Linked DNA regions of Homo sapiens: region 1 is linked to region 2. The links are contacts of gene promoters, found by promoter capture Hi-C in human tissues and cell types (Jung and others, 2019). All regions are on one chromosome and are shown on one strand. Each heading gives the region's core, a stretch centred on a gene start or on the middle of the fragment in contact. The rest is flanking DNA. Distances are from core to core; before and after follow the strand shown. Region 1 overlaps WDR25 (WD repeat domain 25). Region 2 holds the start of PPP2R5C (protein phosphatase 2 regulatory subunit B'gamma).

Region 1 (6,222 bases), core at 3,137-5,636, 1.4 Mb after region 2:
GGGTGACAGAGGCTTGGACCCCTGGGATCACGTTTTCATCACACAGTTTGGAGAGCTAACCAAGCAGAAGAAGACAGAGACGTGGCTGGAAAAGAACCCACTCACTTATCCCAGAACTAGGATGTGCTGACGTTTTTACCAACACAATAGTGAGATTCCCCAAAATGTAATTACAGATGTAAAGAAAACTGTGGTCCTCAATTACACTGTCTAAAATGACTGAGGACCCCAAAGAGCTGTTGTTTTTTCGGATTATAGCTATGGGTACTTCGCGTATTAGAAGTGAAAACTGAGGACATTTTAAAATATTTATTAATTTATGTAAAAGTAACAGTAACAAACCCCCCACATGTTAACAGAAATAGCACATTCTTATAAAAATAACTCTATTTTCCAAGACCAAGAAAAATTAGTAAGAAGGCATTGTTTACATTTTTGCAGATCTCATTAATGTCTGGCTTAATACAAGACAGCTGGGTTCTCAAAGCTGCGTCTGTATTTAATCCACTGCAAAAGCACACGCCTCATAGCCTCTGGAAAACTCCATGTACACTCAGGAGAGAAGGAGAATGGAAAAGGCAAATAACTCCTAGGTATTATTATGAAAATAGTTTTGACCCCCTGAAAGGGTCTTGAGGCCCCCCAGGGATTTGGAGACCACACTAAAAACCAAAGCAATAAATTACAGCATTAAAAACTGCTACTGCAGTATGTGGAGGGAAAGAAGGGTTTAAATTAGATGTATAGTTGGAGCTCAACTATGTTGAATCTTTTTTTTTTTTTAAGGCTGGATGAAAATATACCAAAAAGTCTGCAGTCATTGCCTCTGGGTGGAGAGAAAATGGGCAATTTGTTTCTTCTTTATACCTTTCTGTTCTTTCCAGATTGCATTTCTTTTATGGTCAAAAACAACATTTCTTTTTTGAGGAAAGGTTGAGGAAGCTGTGGCGTACCCATGCCCTGCGGAATAAGCCGGATGGGAAGAAGGTCATTTTAAATCATGAATAGCCAGCGTCAGTGTGGGGGAGCATCACGAAGCTGGCTGCCGGGGACCGCGGCGCTGCTCCTTAATATGCCCATCGATCCCTGGCACCACGCACACATTCATCATGGTGGCGCAGGGCCTGCCTCGGACCCACTGACGAGAATTGAAACTGGCTCAAGCTAATCACTACTAGATGAAGGTCAAATATAGGTGACGATTTATCAGATCTCAGGGTGGGGGAGGACATGCCATGCTCTAGAGCCATGGACAATTACAAAGGGAAAGGGCCAGAGACTTGACAGCGAAAAATGTCAGGTTTTCTCTGTTAAAAAAAAATACATGAAATACCAAAACTCAACATCACACAACACCCTGGGGGGGAAGAGGGTAAAATATGATGAAAGGTCAATATTGTAAGTACGTAAATTGCCCAGATAAGAGAAACGCTAAGACTACAGGAGATGAATGGACAAGAATCAGGATAACAAATGCTTGTTTAGAATGAACGAAGTGCCGGCCCGTTCTAAAAGAGCTGTACGTAAATGAACTCACTTGGTTCTCAAACAAGACACCATTAAATTAGCAGACATTTTCAAAAGGTAATAATTCTGCCGCTGTGGAGGGTGAGAAGACGCAGCCACTTTTACGCATAAATGATGGTGTGTGTCAGACACTGAGCGCTACACAGCCCCCAAAAAGAGCGGCACAGATCTGCACACTGGTGGGAAAAGATGTGCCGGACAGTGAGAAAACCAAGCTGGAGGACAGGATGGAGAGTGCAGTCTGCACACTAAACACAGAGACCTTGACCCTCTTCCCCAGCTCAGATGCCGGAAGGCTGGCAGCAGGCCAAGAGCCCACCCAGAGAAGACACCTCCCTGAGAAGCTGACCAGGCTCAAGGAAATACATAAAAATAATCACAAGTGGGTTCCTATGATGAGCGCCAGCCTGCTGCCTCATAACCCTACATCCGGCCCGCTGCAAACAAAGTCCCTTTGCCCCCACACAAGGGCGTGTGCATGCACACACACACACACACACACACACACACACACACAGCTTTTGGTCAGGTCAGCTTTTTAGGTCCTCCCTCCCTAATTGGAATGAGCAGCAGGAAATCTCTAACATGGAACACAGACACCAAAACAAAAAAAGACCAAAGGAGATAAGAAAGAGACAAACATTTCAGAAAACAGGAAAACTTTCAAAGAACTCAAAGAGCTAAGAAAAGACCTTGTAAATATACAATAAAAAACAATATGCTATATTAAAAAAAGGAACATTCAGAAAATAAGAAACAGCTCTTGGAATGTAAAAACATGACAGAACACTTCCCTGAATATATATTATTCTTCAATTTGAAAGTTTATGACAGCAGAAATACAAATTCAAAAAAAGCATTGAAAGATAGATAAAGTGGAAGAAATTCCCCAGAAAAATAAAACAGAAAGGCCAAGAAATAAAGAGGAGAAACCGAGACGCTCAATCCAGGGACATCCAGGATGCCCAAGCAATCAGAGTTGCAAAGTCAACGACCTTCAGCAGCAGCAGCCCCAGAGGGTGCCGCTCATCTCTGTATGGCCCTCGTTCTATGGGGGGGCCGAGCTCCCCAGTGCCCCAATCCTGGCGAGGAAAGGCAGGCCTGGAACAGCCCCACAAGCCCTGGCAAAGCAGAGTTCTAGGGCCGCTTTGGTTGTAGGTTTCTAAAGCCCTTCTGGTCCTCCCTGCATTTCAGCCAGTATCACAGTATTCCACGTAGAAGATCAAGGTACGCTGTCCTCTGCCAAGTTCAGGAAACTTCAGGAAGCCTGCCAGAGGGGAGGCCAGGTGAAGGCAGGCTTCCAGCTATCCTGGGCTGACACAGTTGGTCTCACTCACATGTACCTTCTGACTGCCCCTCAGGGCTTCTGTCCCCCGGCTTGCTCCACTCCCCCCAGTATATGAGGGGTCCGCATGAGAGCTGTGTTCATCTGGGAGAATAGACAAAAGAAAACACCTGACAAGAAACAGCAGAAGCTAGAAGGAAACCTTAAAAGGTTGGAATGACTTACCTAACCCTTCTCTTAAGAGGAAATAATACTAACAATCTGGGGGAGAAATGACCACCCTATGATTTTAAATGCAGGCTACAAAAACAAAGTACCTACCATATGATTAAAACTAGTTGATATATGTAGGGAAAAAAGACTAGAAGGAAACGCTGCTTGCAAAATGTTCATGGTCATTAGGCTTGAATGAAGGGTCTATGGTTTATCTTTTAATTTCTGCCATTTTCTTGCATTTTTTCCCAAAATTTTACCACTTTTATGATAAAACAAATTAAATCTAAAACAACTCATTTGGACACAGGCCATCACTGGGCATTAGACAAGCACCTTTAAGAGTCTACTGTCTCCGAGTTTTAAAAGCAACAAGAAATAATTTACTAGACTGTCTCGACTCCTAAGTGCGCCAATTTTGCAATCTGCATTTTTCAATTACATTAAAAGCATTTTTCCAAATTGCTCTATCCTTCCCTTAATGACATGGGATGAGAGTGAATGAGGCTTGCTTCTCGAGGACAGAGGCTGCACCTTCACACGGCTGTTTTCTTCCTGTCAGCTTCTGGCGAGCACAAGGCCCCGCCCTTGGTACACTGAACTGTTTAAGTTAAATGGAATGAAGTTATTAAAAAGCAGAAAACACAGCTTGGGTTCTGCTACACTTTCCTTTTCTTATTCCTCTTCAACCCAAGGTTTTTTCTGTAAGATACAAGATTGTAAGGCAACTGGAACTGGGAAATGTCTCATTTGTTGGCCTCAGAAATGTCGCGGCTTTCACATGGGGGAGGAGGAGTGTCAAAAAAACTTCACTTCCCACGAAGAGAAGATTCCAGCTCAGAATCTCATGGCTCTTCCCAGAGGCTCGGCAGCTCTGCTGCCAACCAGTCTAAAGCCCCACACTCCCAATCCTGGGGTAATTCAGATGATTCTGAAAGTCCTCTGGAAGGTGGGAAAGAAGAGAAGCAAATATAGTGTCCAGACTAGGAAGCATCCAAACACCTATTGTGTGTCCTCGGGCGTGTCTTCCCCTCTATGGGCCTCTATCAAATGAACCAGATGAACGCTATGCATGCACGCACATGCGCACACACACATCACCAATTCTCTCCTCACCTTCATCTAATTACCCTGGATGCACTGTTAATCATTCACTCCCCAAATACCAAAGGCCCACTACCACCACCCAAACCTCCTTCCCAGCTGCGCCTCTCATTGCCAATAGATTTGCCTCGTGCTTAGAATAAATTGCCAATCATCTGCATAATGCTCCACAACTCCTCACTCCACACATCAAATCATTTCTCAATCTCATTTTGTAAAATCCATCAAGAATAATTCTTTCAAAACTGAAATAAACCCTCACTCTGGCACTTAGAGCCATAAATCCCTTGTCTTTGAATGTGAAATAGATCACTTTCTACAAAGCACATCTAAGATATCTTAATGTAATCAGATTCACTAACAATGATAAATCAACAGGATCCTGTGATACATAAAAATGCAAATCCAAACCACCCCAGAAATCATCTCTTCTCTGTATGTCCCTTAACAGAACCACAAAATTTGGAAGCTGGGATAGAGCTTGGACACCACCTGGGTGAAGGGGATGCGCTTTTCCATCCCTTATTCTCAGAGGCAGGAGGGCAGCGTGAGTGGTGGTAGCTCTTTCTGCTCAGGCTCTGAGTCTGAAGCTTCCCTGCTTGCCTCTATCATTTACTAGCTGTGTGACCACGGACAAGTCTCTTGACCTCTCTGTGCCTCAATTTCCTCATCTGTAAAATGGGAATGAGGACAGAAGTGGCCTCTCAGGCCTGTAATGAAGAGGAGACGGAGCGTTTAGAACATGCCTAGTACATGGTAAGCACTCAGCAATGGCTAGCGCTCTCCATCCTCTCATCCATGCTTTAAATGTGACCACTTTGGGGACAGGGAACCAGCTCTCCAACACAGACCTGCCAAGTGTTCAGTACATGAAAAGGGAGTGCATGAATGGCTTGGCACAGACAATCCTCAAACTCTTTAGATTCTAAAAGTATTTATCTCAAGAACACTGAGATTGAAACGCTTTAAAAACGTGTGCATAGAGACAATGAAAAGATTCACAAAAAACAAGAGTTACAGTAAGTTGGAGGATTCTGGGTGATTTGTCTTTTCTACACTTTGTTTTATAACTAATCAAGACAGGTACAGGGGAATCAGAAACATGCTTCCTCAGCCTCTCCCTTGTCAGGCACTAGGCTGGATCTTCTCATTTCAGCTCTACAGCAACAACCTTAATTGGTGGCCATTTACCAATTATCCCCATTTTACCAGTGAGGAACTAGGGGATCAGAGAGGCTAAGTGATTTTCCCAAAGTCACACAGCTACCAAGCAGAAGATTTGGCATGGGAGCCAAGGAGTACAACAGTGGTACTGAAGGTTTGCCAATCTAATCAGGTCCCACTCTCACCACACACAAGGGCTTTAGCTAATGCCTGGGTGTAAATCAAAGCCCATCTTTTTCTTTTTTTTTCTGAGATGGAGTCTCGCTCTTTCACCCAGGCTGGAGTGCAGTGGTGCGATCTGGGCTCACTGCAAGCTCCGCCTCCTGGGTTCATGCCATTCTCCTGCCTCAGCCTCCCGAGCAGCTGGGACTACAGCCGCCCACCACCGCGCCCGGCTAATTTTTTGTATTTTTAGTAGAGACGGGGTTTCACCATGTTAGCCAAGATGGTCTCAATCTCCTGACCTCGTGATCCGCCTGCCTCGGCCTCCCAAAGTGCTGGGATTACAGGCATGAGCCACCGCGCCTGGCCTCAAAGCCCATCTTAACTGCATTAAGGCAGCAAAAAAAGACAATATTTATGTATAGCCATATTCACTGTAATACTGATTATTTTTTAAACAAAAGCAGGAAATTATAGGAAACAACATGGAAATGATGGAGCAAAGTATGAAACTTGAGACAGTTATAAAAATATATTTGGGGAAAAGTTTTTAATAAGGTAGAAAAATTCCCCTTACACGTTACAGAAGATTGGGCAGCAGAGGAAGAATTCAAAACTGCACATACTATGCAATAAGCCCAATTATGTAAACAGATAGGAATGTAGGGCCCCCGACCAGGGAGGCCCCTCATGTTAATGAGGCACTGACTTGGGGTTGGGAGTTATCAATGATTTCTGTTTCTCCTTCATACTTCATATTTCCTGCA
Region 2 (6,426 bases), core at 3,317-5,816:
ATACTCCAGGACTTCATCTTTCTTACTGAAAAACCCAAACCATCAAATGTCCCCTTGTTCTACCCAAGAATTGTTCTGCAACATACGCCACCTGCTTTCTTGCTTTCTATGAGGCTGAAGACTAGACAGGCAGGAGTTTATTATACAGACCTGCCATATACTTGAAGTAGTGTGTTAAGTCAACCAGAGGCCAAGTTCTTGAATGCTTTCTCTGTTTGGATTATTTCCACGCTGTCTGGCTGCTCTGCCCTGGACAGGTCCCTGCTCTGCACATCTCTCAAGGCTGAGAAGCCCCAACTAGGGTAACTGTCCCATCAGAAGGTGAGTTCACTGGGTAATGGGAGCAACTGCTCATTGTGAAGGTGACATGATGTTAAAAGGCTTGAAAGGGGCTGCATGGTGGCTAACGCCTGTAATCCCAGCACTTTGGGATGCTGAGGCAGACGGATCACCTGAGGTCACGAGTTCGAGACTAGCCTGGCCAACAAGGTAAAACTCCGTCTCTACTAAAAATACAAAAAAAAAAAAAAAAAAAAAAAATTAGCTGGGCATGGTGGCAGGAGCCTGTAATCCCAGCTACTTGGGAGGCTGAGGCAAGAGGATCACTTGAACCCGGGAGGTGGAGGTTGCAGTGAGCCGAGACTGTGCCATTGCACTCCAGCCAGGGAACAAGAGTGAAACTCTGTCTCAAAAAAAAAAAAAAAAAGGCTTGAAAGCAGCATGGGAATGTCAAGCCTATTTAAATTGTTCAGGTTAAAATATTCAAGTTAAGAGTAATACTGAGAGAGAGGAGAGGGAAAAAGTGTGCAATAATGGTTTAATTCACCTGCATGAGTCAATCATATTTGGTAAGTGGGTGGAACTAGAAGTGAAGCAGTGAGCTGAAGACTGAGGGGAAAAAAAACAATAATAAAATTTAAGGGTCAACTCAAAGGTCAAATGAACAGAAGTGTCCCAACTTGTATTCCTGAAAAACAATTTACACAGTGATCTGCCAAGTGTCAAGCTTAATATGCCAGGTTGCCTCTGGTATCCTTATGAGGAAGCAGTGAAGGGCCCAACATTTCAGTGTTTTCAGTGGTAATTTCAAGCTCTGTAGCTCCAGCTCTTAGACAGTAGCACTAGAAAAAATACAAAAAGACAAGTGGGGCATCATACTCAGGCACTGCAGGCCACACCGCAGGTCTCACACGGCTGGCAAACTGCTTTCAAAACACACATTTCACATAGTAGTGATTTTGGTATCTTTGAACTACTGAGATTTTTCAGGTTTAAACTTAACATTATTCATCCTTACAGCCAGGATCTTCCCACTAAAAATAGAAATAAATGATATATACACACTGATGCTCCTTTGTATAAGGAATATAGCTAAAGTAAGAGGATATAGGCACATTAGCAAGAAAGCTCTGGGGAGAAGAAATCTTAGCAGTTTTAATGAAAGATCAAAAGACCAAAAAAAAAAAAAAAAAAGGCATATAGCATATACCTTCATAAAGCACCTACATTTCATCTTCATCGAAATGAATTTAGTCAAAAGGGTGACAGGGAAGAAAGAAACAAGTCAAATCCCAGCATGGCACAGTAAACCTCAGTTGTCTGCTATAAAGACAGGGAGGGACAGACTGGCACAAATGATCCTAACTATTGACATTTAAGGAATCTTTTGGATTTCTGCTTTTTGCTTTGGGGAGGGCAACAGATTTGCTGGAATAAACCACCTGCTGAAGAGGAGGGAGGTTCAGAATACACCAAATGATAGAAAAGAGAGAATGCAGGGCTAAAAAAAAGTCCACTGCAGATCATCGCCAGTTAACTGTGTTTCCCAGACAGAACTGAACTCATTCTAATTTGGCTTACAGGAAGAAGTCTGACACTGGCAAATAAACGTCATTTGTGATAAGACTGGGGCTTCAATGATCCAGTTCTGGATAACTGACACTCTATTAACCCAATTATGTGCTACCCATGGATTCAAAAGGACCTACTGGCTCTGCCTGGGTCCACGCAGCTCCTGGACCCTTGGCCCTAGGTGCTCTAGTTCAACAATTAGTCACAAGGAAGAAAAGGCAAAGGAAAGTGGTGACTCTGCAAATCCTCTGAAGGCACTTCACGGTGTGAAGGAACAGCATCAACCTTGGTCAAGTAGATGCAATGCTCACTTGGCATTCCAGCTGTTCCTCAATGAGGCCAAAGCCAAGAAGCAAAGAAATTTACAAGTGGCCGACGCGCAAGTGCGCGCGCCCACACACACACACACACACACACACAATGTGAACAATAATAAAATACCAAAACTAGGTAAATTTTTTCAAATACCAACATTATTGGAGAAAGAGGCCAAGGGACCGTCAACAGAAATAGGGAGCTAGCCCAGGACGTCAGTAGCAGAGGTGGTTTGAAGGAAAACAAGGTGATGGAAGAAAAAGAACTAACCACTGAGTTGCCTGGCAGCTTGCAATGGAAGTGGCGGTGGGGAGATGACCCTAAAGCTAAAAGCAACATAGCAACACCATAGACTGCATAAGACCAATCTATACAGGAGGGTTGCTGGGTTTGAGGTGTGGGAAATGAACTTAAAAATACCAGATCCAGGATGGGCACGGTGGCTCAGGCCTGTAATCCCAGCACCTTAGGAGGCCAAGGTGGGCGGGTCACGAGGACAGGAGTTCAAGACCGGCCTGACCAACCTGGTGAAACCCCGTCTCTAATAAAAATACAAAAATTAGCCGGGCGTGGTAGCGGGTGCCTGTAATCCCAGCTACTCAGGAGGCTGAGGCAGGAGAATTGCTTGAACTCGGGAGGCAGAGGTTGCAGTGAGCCAAGATCGCGCCACTGCACTCCAGCCTGGGTGACAGAGTGAGACTCTATTAAAAAAAAAAAAAAATTTGTTGGGTGTGGTGGCATGTTCCTGTGGTCCCAGCTACTTGGGAGGCTGAGGTAAGAGGATCACTTGAGCCTGGGCGGCAAGGGGTAGCAGTGAGCAGAGATTGCGCCACTGCACTCCAGCCTGCGTGACAAAGTGAGACCCCGTCTCAAAAAAATAAAAAACAAAAAAAACCCCAAAAGACCCACAAACAAACCCCATAGGCAAGCACAATTTTCATAAAATCATTAATAGTTTTCCAAAGCAAAACAGTAAATACCTAAACAACTAAAATTGAGGGTTATAAAAGACACCACAAAAAAAAAACCTCACATAGGGAAACATTTTAGAAGATTCTAGGCTTTATCACTCTCGGTTTTTCTACCTGAAGTTAAAAGCTGTGTATAAAATACAAAGTCAATATTTGATGACAGTTACCTCTGATTCTACTGTGTCTTGTCCTTCTTTTGAACTTTTTCCACTCTTCCCTGCTTTTGGTGATTCCTGGTAAACATCAAGCAAAGTCAATTAGTCTTCTCACTTTTTAGACAGGTAAACATCAGATAAGCCAAATGCAGTTTTAAAAGTGATTTATACAACTACAGCTTCTGATATTTTTAATTCATACCATTAGGAAATTCTATATCATACCGTTTAGGATTCCAACAGTGCAATGCCCCCCAACCCCCATTCAGATTCTTTTCGTTTTATCTGCATTTGAGGTTGAAAACTTCAAGCAGAAAACAGATAAATCCAATTTTATACAGTGCTTCTGGCATTTTGAGATCCACATCACATCCCTTTCTACCCTCCCACCCTAAACCCTATGAGTGAGGATTTCTGGGGTGATAATGAAACGCTACAGAGCTCCACCTGAAGCAGAAACATACCCGCCCCCCCGAATGCAAACGCAGCACCCTTGCTCGCAGCCCTCACCGCCGCCGCCACCCAGGATAATAATAGTGTTCGAGAGCCCCAGAGCGTCCCTCCGGGGCGGCAGAGAATTCCTTACCAGCTCTCAGCGGGGTCCCTTCTCGCTCCCTTTCCCCCGTACAGGGGTCCCTCCCCAGGCGTCTACAGCCCCCATCCCTGAAGCTCCTTTCCGGGAGCCTGCGAGGCTGCGAACCCCCTCGGCGGCCGCACCTGCCCGCCCAAGCCCACGGCGCGCTGTCGGAAACGGGCGCCCCTCCGACCCCCTCCCCGGGCCGCGCCCTCCCTCCACGCCCAGCCCCGGCCCATCACGAAGGTCCCAGCGGCCCGGGCCTGCGCCCCGCGGCTCCGGCGCGATCCCCGGGCTCCCCGCCCCCACCGGGCATGAGGCCGAGAGAAGCCCGGGGATGCCTGGCTCGGCCGCCCTCGGGGACGCGAAGCCCGCGGCGTCAGGCGGGGAACTGAGCCGGGGCCCGGGCGCAGGACCCCGGTGCCGTCGCGCCCTCCCCCGGCAGTCCCTCCCTGCTCCCTCCGTCCCGCGGCCGGGCCCGGACTCACTTTCTCCTTCTTGTTTTTATTCGGCATGGCTGGAGCGGGCCGCCGCCGCCGCCGCCGCCCCTGCCGCCGCCTGCCCCCGCAGCAGCAGCGCCCCCGCCCCGGCCGTCGCGCCCCCGCGGCCGCCGCCGCCGCCGCCGCCCGGGGACTGAGTCTTTCGCTTGCTCTCGCTTCCCCTTTTCCAGACTCCCAGAGGCTGCGGCAGCCACGGCGGCGGCGGCGGCGGCGGCGGCGGCAGCGGCGGCGTCTCTCCGCCCCTCCCCCGGCCGGCCCGCCCCGCCCCTCTCCTCCCACCCCCCGGCCGGCCGCCCCGCCCCGCCCGCCGCTCGCCCCACCCCCGCGCCCGGCCCCGCCCCGCTGCACTCAACAGCGCCCTGCCATTGGTCGACGCGCCCCCACGTACCCTAACGCTCCCCGCTCCCCCCACCCTCTCCGCGCGACCCGTTCACGCCCCCGCCCTCCGTCCCGAGTCGCTGCGAGCCGGCCTCAGGCAGGCCGCGGCCTCCTGGCGCGGGGCTGACCGCTGAGCAGAGCTGAGCCGACTCAGGGGAGGGAGCATGTGGCTGCGACTGCGGTGACAGGGCCGTGGCCCGCTGTGGAGGCGCAAGACAGAGCGTGAGACGTAGGAAATGCACATTTGAAATGTATGGCAACAACTTCTGCAGCCGGCGAAACGCGAACCGTGGCCTCTTGGCCTTGCCCCCTCACCGCCGCGGCTCTCGTTGCAGTCAAGAGTGCCTGGCACGCTTTGCACTGAGGCGCACGGGGAGGCCCGGGAACCGAGCGAGCGGCAGTTTCGCGGGACACCGCTGGGCCCCGCCTCCCCTCCCTTCCCTCCCCTCCCCTTCCCTCCTCTCCCTCCACTCCCCTCCCCTCCGTCCCCTCCCCTCGACCACCCCGTCCCCTGCCCTCCCCTTCTCTCGACCAGCCCGTCCCCTGCCCTCCCCTCCCCTCCCCTCGACCAGCCCGTCCCCTCCCCTCCTCTTCCCTCGGCCAGCCCCTCCCCTCGGCCAGCCCTTCCCCTCGACCAACCCCTCTCCTCGACCGGCCCCTCCCCTCGACCGGCCCCTCCCCTTGGCCGGGCCCTCCCCTTGACCGGCCCCTCCCCTCGACCGGCCCCTCCCCTCGGCCGGCCCCTTCCCTCGGCCAGCCCCTCCCCTCGACCAGCCCCTCCCCTCGACCAGCCCCTCCCCTCACCAGCTCAGCTTTCCGCAGCTCCTCCCGCGAGGTCCCGCCCATCCGACAGCCCGCCCCTCCCTGGTTGGTCCCGCCCTCCGCAGTTTCTCCCGCAAGGTCCCGCCTACCCGACAGTCCCGTCCTTTCCTGGTTGGTCCCGCCCTCCGCAGCTTTTGCCGCGAGGTCCCACCCACCCGACAGCCCCGCCCCTCTCCAGTCGGCCCCGCCCTCCGCAGCTCCTTCCGCGAGGTCACGCCCACATGCGCAGCCCCTCTCCTCCGGCGTCGGCCCCGCCCACCGAGGCGAGGCCTCAAAGACTTGGTGGCCGCTGCGCCAATAGGATTTTATTTTTATTCTTTAATTTGGCTTGATCATAAATGGTGAGGAAACCTCTGCATGACTGGGAGTCACCTGATTTCTCTCAGCTTGTTAATAGCTGTGAGGAGAGGGTGTCCAAGGGAAAAACGTTAACTTTTCAATACAATACTTCCGCGGTCCACCTCGTGCCCAAAACTATTGAAGACGCTAAGGACAGGCGTCCCAGATTGCAGAAATGCATTAGGTAGTAAGACTCTAGGAGCGTACGGATTTCACGTGCGAGAGGCATTGGTGCTTCACCTGTGATGATGAAGGAGCTGCATCTTAACTGGCAGCTTAAAAATCATCGCGTTCTCTTAGCCCCCGGAGTTTTGTTCTTGGAAGTTTCCAGGCAAAGCATTTTCCATTATTCTCAGCAGTTCTGCAATGAGAAAGCTGAAAGACGGGGTAAGAAAAAAAAGATCTAAAGGGAGGAATGTTGTGGGAGGTCCAGAAAGTAAGTTCTGTCTGCGGGTATCTGAATGTCTGCCGGCTCTTAGACGAATATCTGTAGGTAAGCAGGACAGTCTCAACTATTTGTG

Evidence for each region. Contacts are between HindIII fragments. The study calls those that stand out against the background at their distance.
Region 1: a fragment that was not itself captured here is called in contact with the fragment with the promoter of PPP2R5C in region 2 in 1 of the 25 tissues and cell types used here (dorsolateral prefrontal cortex).

The regions. Positions count from the first base shown.
Region 1 is chr14:100,386,214-100,392,435 of GRCh38, reverse strand. The region is part of intron 2 of WDR25 (WD repeat domain 25); the gene reads right to left. Among named protein-coding and RNA genes, the nearest start is that of WDR25, 13 kb to the right of the region's middle. The HindIII fragment of the contact is 4,605 bases long and covers 2,084-6,222 here.
Region 2 is chr14:101,759,849-101,766,274 of GRCh38, reverse strand. It overlaps PPP2R5C (protein phosphatase 2 regulatory subunit B'gamma), which reads right to left and starts at 4,566. Exons shown (of 16, transcript NM_001352913.2): 1 at 4,355-4,566; 2 at 3,305-3,370. The coding sequence starts at 4,381. LOC107984658 (a long non-coding RNA gene) reads right to left here and starts at 2,196. Exons shown (of 2, transcript XR_001750901.1): 1 at 1,989-2,196; 2 at 1-1,121. RefSeq lists silencers at 3,931-4,000, 4,051-4,270, 4,411-4,650, 4,661-4,820, 5,281-5,330 and 2 more. The HindIII fragment of the contact is 18,209 bases long and covers 1-6,426 here.